2 separate regions of the Homo sapiens genome follow, and region 1 is linked to region 2. Evidence: promoter capture Hi-C in 16 types of primary human blood cells and fetal thymus (Javierre and others, 2016). All regions are on one chromosome and are shown on one strand. The core of a region is centred on a gene start or on the middle of the fragment in contact, and the rest is flanking DNA. Distances in the headings are between cores, read along the strand shown. Region 1 overlaps ATOSA (atos homolog A). Region 2 holds the start of LEO1 (LEO1 component of Paf1/RNA polymerase II complex).

Region 1 (2,989 bases), core at 257-2,756, 630 kb after region 2:
ACAATAGCTGATGAGCTTAAAAAAATCACAAAAAAAATCTAACAACATTTTAAGAAAGTTTACGAATTTGTGTTGGGCTGCATTCAAAGCTGTCCTGGGCCGCAGGCTGGACAAGCTTGCTCTAAATGGTGGCAAGAAAAGGTGACTATTAGCTATTAGACTATTTGGGTGTTATTCTGTGTCCATGTGTTTCCAGACTCCACCTAATGCCCCACAAATAATGTCTAAGGATCATGATTTCCCCCAACAACATTACAGGGATAAGACTTTGCCCTGTTTTCATTAAACAAGTCTAATGTGTCATTTTAGTGACTCAAGTCTAACCCCATCTTTTATTGCACAGAATGTCAAATTCACTAAGCAGAGGAAATATCTTCTGTAATTTACTGAAGAAAACATCAAATTCATTATAAATAAGACCTATGGGTTGGATAGTCTCAGAACATCTCTATTTCTTAAGTCACTTGGAAAATGTATGTATATCTGCACAAATAGAATCGTCTGAAAAAAACTGTGTACTGATCTTTAACTATCTTCCCTGACATGGTTTGCATATTGTCCCCTTCAAATCTCATGTTGAAATGTAATCCCCAAAATTGAAGGTGGGGCCTGGTAGGAGGTATTTCGGTCATGGAGGTGGATCTTTCACAAATAGCTTGGTTCTGTCCTTGCAACAGTAGGTTCTTACGAGATCCGGTTGTTTAAAAGCATATGGCACCTCCCTCCTTGCTCTCTTGTTCCTGCTCTCACCATATGATGTGCCTGCTCCCACTTTGCCTACCACTATAAGTAAAAGCTCCCTGAGGCCTCATCAGAAGCAGATGCCAGCACCATGCTTCATGTAAAGCCTGCAGAACTGTGAGCCAATTAAACCTCTTTTCTTTATAAATTATCCAGCCTCTGGCCTTTCTTTATAGCAATGCAAAAACAGTCTAATACATTCCCTTTTCCAAAGTTTTGACATATCAGACTGCTCTCTTTTTCACTTATACATTTTTTGTAGTACATGTCTCAAAAGGAGCAAGAAAAATAATTTCTTGTAGTACAAAGGTTGCTGAGCCACCCGACCCTAACAATGGCCTATGCAATTTTAATTTGATGACAAAGAGGAATAGAGAGCTTGACATCTCTGAACTGATACCTTGGAATTGACATGGAAAAGACTTACCATGAAATATCTTTTCATTTCCACTAAGACTGTGAAAGATAGCTTCACTATTAAAATAGTTATAAAGCAAATGGTTAATATATCAAAACACAACTCCTGTAAAACTATTTATCTTAAAAATATAAAATTTTAATTATTTTCTCCTAAAAAACTCACCAGTTAAAATCACTTTAAAAATGTCATTTACAAGTTCGTGTTTAAGGTTAAGCTGATTTCTAATTACAGACAATTGAAACCCATGATTTCTACTTGACCCCAAGTAGAAATATTGTGAGTAAACATATCAGAAATCTTTATTTGAATTTTTAAAAAATAACCTTGTTACTTTAGAATAGCTGCAGATTTACAAAAAAGTTGCAAATAAAGTACAGAAAACCTTTTGGTTTTGCAAATCAACTTCCCTGATTATGAGGGGGCTGCTATTAGCCCACCACTATTTTCTCTGGGTCCTAGACCCAATTTTACCAAGTAAGAAGATGTGGTCAAATCTATGCTCCCGGCTTAAGTAACAGATTCCTCAATCCAACCTGATTTCATCAGGTCTTCTCTTCTCCACTACCAGCTATCCAATTCTAAGACATCACTGCCAACAATTCTGATTTCCCTTCTTGTGAAAATAAAATAAAAAGGTAATTTCAAGGCTTGAAAAAAGACAATTATTTCTTTCCTTTTCACAACCAAAGTTAAAGACATATAAAATGACACCCTAGAACCTAGGGTATAAAATTTTCATTTAAAGAACAGTTTCAAAGCACATTACCTCAAAATTTCCTAGGAGACTAAGACTTGTTATAGGTGGAGCACTAGAACTCAAAAATGGTTTTTCATGAATATCTGGATCATCTTCAATGTTTAAACATGGTCGAGGACTATTAGAAAAACAAATCAGCAAAAGAACACATTAGCCACAATACTTTTTTTTTTAATCTTGAGACAGGGTCTCACTCTGTCACCCAGGCGGGAGTACAGTGGCACCATCATAGCTCATACAGCTCAAACTCCTGGCTTCAGGCAATCCTCCTGCCTCAGCCTCCCAAAGTGCTGGAGACTACAGGTGTGAGTCACCAAGCCAAGGCACAATATTATTTACTTTTGTACAAAATTAAGAAAATCTGAACTCTACTCAAACTACCATAATAAATTAATGTTATCAAATTTTAAAATATAAAATTTCAAGTTTTAAATTCCCAGATTTTATCTTTCTTTATATTTTATATTTTATAAACACACATACACACATCCTAAAAGGTTTCGAGGTGGAATTTAGAACATATCACATAGTGGCATCTACTGGAAATAAATAATAATGCAGACTTCTATATCAATCTTATTTTCAGTTAAGAATGAGAATACAAGGGCAAAATTGTGTGACTAAAGATTATAATCAGAGTATTATTTGCCAACACGGAAAAAAATGGCCAAGGTTGTTTTTTTTTTTTCCGTCAAAGAGTAAAAGGTAGTAGAGGTTAATAACTAGAAATATATAAAACCACTTAAAACCAATGTAAGAGTTTATTATGATGACCACTATATAGTTGCTACTCATTGCCTTAATTTCTTCCACACTCATCCTTAATAACTGCGTGTGTACATGGTATCATACTCTAAATAAGATTCCTGTTACAATTCTGATGTTTAGAATCAACATTATTTATTGTTAAAGACCAGAATTTTGTGAAATTCTGTTTGAAACACACAAATGAATTTTGAGATAAATACCTTCTAGATGAGAAGCTTTTCAGATGTAGTAATGAAGAATCCAGATCAAAGCAACCTGATTGTGTTTTTCTTTGAGGAACCTAAGGTCAAAACGATCATTTG
Region 2 (3,194 bases), core at 204-2,703:
CAGTTTGTATTTTTAGTAGAGACAGGGTTTCACCATGTTGCCCAGGCTGGTCTTCAACTCCTGAGCTCAGGCAAATCCGCCTGCCGGAACCAGGAATGTTTACAGTAGCACTATTCAAACAACCCAATGTCCATCAACAGATAAATGGATTAACAAATTTAGGGTGTGCACATTCAATGGAATATTATTAAATCATTAAAAATGAATAAAGTACTGATATGTGCTACAATGCCTTGAAGACATTATGCTAAGTAAAAGAAACCAGACACAAAAGACCACAATGCATGATTCAATTTATATGAAATTCCCAGAACAGATAAGTACAGAAACAATAGCAGACAGGGGTTGGAGGAAGGAGCATATGAGGAGTAAGTGCTTTATGAACAGTGTTTTATTTGGGGGTGATGAAAATAACAACTAGATATATGTTGTCTACAAGAGACTCACTTTACTTGGAGCCTAGAGGGTTGCAAGAATTCTGAACTTGGTCTTGGGTTCTCACTTCAAATAGCTCCTATTCATATTTCAAGTGCCCGTAGTCTCAACTACTTGGAGGCTGAGGCAGAAGGATGGCTTGAGCCCAGAAGTTCAAGGCCAACCTGAGCAACACAGTGAGACCCTGTCTCTAAAAAAGTAAACTTTAAAAAAACACCCACAATCCTGTGCCAGAAATAACTTCCAAGCAGCATGCACATACACTAATTCATTCATTTCATCAACAAATCCTTCATTCCTCCTCTCTGTACACAGACCCCATGCACTCCCCAATCTAACATCACAGACTCCGGAAATTCTGGAGTTTCTGCACAAGCTCTTAGAGAACACATTCTCTCCTATGTGAAACATCTATCTGTAACCCCATCCCATTATCCGTCCCAGACTCGTCATCCAGACATCTCAAGCTCCCTATCACACCATGCTCTGGTTTCATTCAAGACGGCATTCTGAGGCCCTCTGTAAATTCGCCCACCCCATCCCATATTCCTGCATTCATTTCCATTCATTCAAAAACAGCCCTTACTCTACGCTGGCCTGTGCAAGGCAAGGCGGAACAGGACTCCAACGTTCCTACCCGCGCTGCGCAGGCTCGCCTGCACTTCCACCCATGCCCCGCGCCCCTTTCGCTCCACAAGCTCCCAGGAACCGTCTGCTCCACCGACACCCAGAGCCTCGAGGCGCAGACTGTCTGACTCTCCATCCTGCCCGCCGGAGGAGGATGGCACCTCCGGGAGTGCAGGGGGCGCTGAGGCAGGAGTGGAGGAAACGCCACCTCTTGCCCGCGGCGCTGGAGCCTCCACGGTTGTCCGGCTCCCACAGCGGAAGGCCTGCCACGCACCCATCCTCCGAAGACCAGCGAACCCACCTTTACGCTCAGCTTCGCTGTCGGCGTCGCTCCCGAAGAGATCCTCCATATCCGCCATTATCGCTCACGTCCGCTGCTGCCTCGGTTAGGGGCAGCTCCCGGCCTCTCTTTACGGCACGGAACCACTGAAACACGACAGTGTCGCAAAGATTCGCCGAAGACACTCCTTTCCTTACGTGACCTAGTTTTCGCTCGCCCAGTGAACCTGTTCTCGCCTGGGTATGCATGGTATATAAGCCCGGCCATTTCGTCAATATCTGTTATTTGCCAGGATTCTTACCAGGGGGCGGGGGGGTCCTGCGTTCGGTTGCGGGTGTGGATGGGGTGGGCGGTGACTGGCGCTCTCTGGGGAAGGGCCTCTGGCTGGATTAAACCTATCGCGAGTCAGGATTGAAGCCCTTTGTTTCTTACTGAGCAGCTGTTCTCCAGTTATTTCATCCCAAACCCCTTTACCCTCTTAAAAATTGTTGAGACGGAGTCTCGCTCAGTCGCCCAGGCTGGAGTGCAGTGGCGCGATCTCGGCTCACAGCAACCTCCACTGTCCGGGTTCAAGCAATTCTAATTCCTCAGCCTCCCGAGTAGCTGGGACGACAGGCGCCCGCCACCACACCCGGCTAATTTTTTGTATTTTAGTAGACACGGGGTTTCACCGTGTTGCCCAGGCTGGTCGCAAACTCAGGAGCTCAGGCAATCCGCCCGCCTCGGCCTCCCAAAGTGCTGGGATTACAGGTACGGGTATTGATATTTACTGTATTCTTACTAATACGGTAATAAATTTTTAAGTTACTAATTCATTTAAAAATAATATACATGTTAACAAACAGCTTTTTTAAGCTTTAAATGACCATTTTTTTGGCCGGGCGCGGTCGCTCACGCCTGTAATCCCAGCACTTTGGGAGGCCGAGGCGGGTGGATCACGAGGTCAGGAGATCGAGACCATCCTGGCTAACACGGTGAAACCCCGTCTCTACTAAAATAAAAAAAATTAGCCGGGCGTGGTTGTGGGCGCCTGTCGTCCCAGCTACTAGGGAGGATGAGGCAGGAGAATGGCGTGAACCCAGGAGGCGGAGCTTGCAGTGAGCCGAGATCGCGCCACTGCACTCCAGCCTGGGCACGAGACTCCATCTCAAAAAAATAATAATAATAAAATAAAATAATTAAAAATAAAAACATTAGCCAGGCATGATGGCATGCATTTGTAGCCCTAGCTACTCAGGAAACTGAGAATGGAGGATCACTTGAGCCCAGGAGTTGGAGGCTGCAGTGAGCTATGATCACGCCACTTCACTCTAGCCTGAGTGACAGAGTAAGGCTCTGTTTCTTAGAAGAAAAAGTGAGAAAAGAGTACATCCTGTGTTACATTACCTAATTAGGCCATTATGAGAGTTTTGGTCTTGGACAAGCAACAATGAATATTTAGTTTGGAGATTATATGATATATATTTTTGTAGTAAACTTCAGTGCTTAACAGGGTCCAAATGGGTGGGACTGGGTATGTAATCATCAATCCTAGAGCTTTTGTGTATGAAGCGGATGTTGCAAGAGAAGATACATAGATAACCTGAAAACTATCTGGAATACTGGAAAAACAAGTATTCCATTTGACAGTGATTCAGTTTCATTTTCATTTAGAGTACTGTCCCTGAAAAGTACTTTGATTAAATTTATTTTCTTTTGATACAGTGTCTCTGTTGCCTAGGCTGGAGCGCAGTGGCGCCATCATAGCTCACTGCAGCCTCAAACTCCTGGCCTCAAGAGGTCCTCCTGCCTCGGCCTCCTAACACGTTGGGATTACAAGTATGGGCCACAGTGCCTGGCTAAATCTTAATAA

The links. Contacts are between HindIII fragments. The CHiCAGO score rates a contact against its expected background, and 5 or more counts as called.
Region 1: a fragment that was not itself captured here is called in contact with the fragment with the promoter of LEO1 in region 2 in 1 of 17 cell types (non-activated CD4 T cells); the score reaches 5.3 in non-activated CD4 T cells.

The regions. Positions count from the first base shown.
Region 1 is chr15:52,598,199-52,601,187 of GRCh38, forward strand. It overlaps ATOSA (atos homolog A), which reads right to left. Exons shown (of 13, transcript NM_001385016.1): 8 at 2,888-2,967; 9 at 1,929-2,037. Among named protein-coding and RNA genes, the nearest start is that of ARPP19, 31 kb to the left of the region's middle. The HindIII fragment of the contact is 2,787 bases long and covers 114-2,900 here.
Region 2 is chr15:51,970,325-51,973,518 of GRCh38, forward strand. LEO1 (LEO1 component of Paf1/RNA polymerase II complex) reads right to left here and starts at 1,454. Exons shown (of 12, transcript NM_138792.4): 1 at 1,364-1,454. The coding sequence starts at 1,421. It also overlaps a transcript of MAPK6 not described here. RefSeq lists enhancers at 571-1,147, 971-1,500, 1,148-1,723. The HindIII fragment of the contact is 6,227 bases long and covers 1-2,195 here.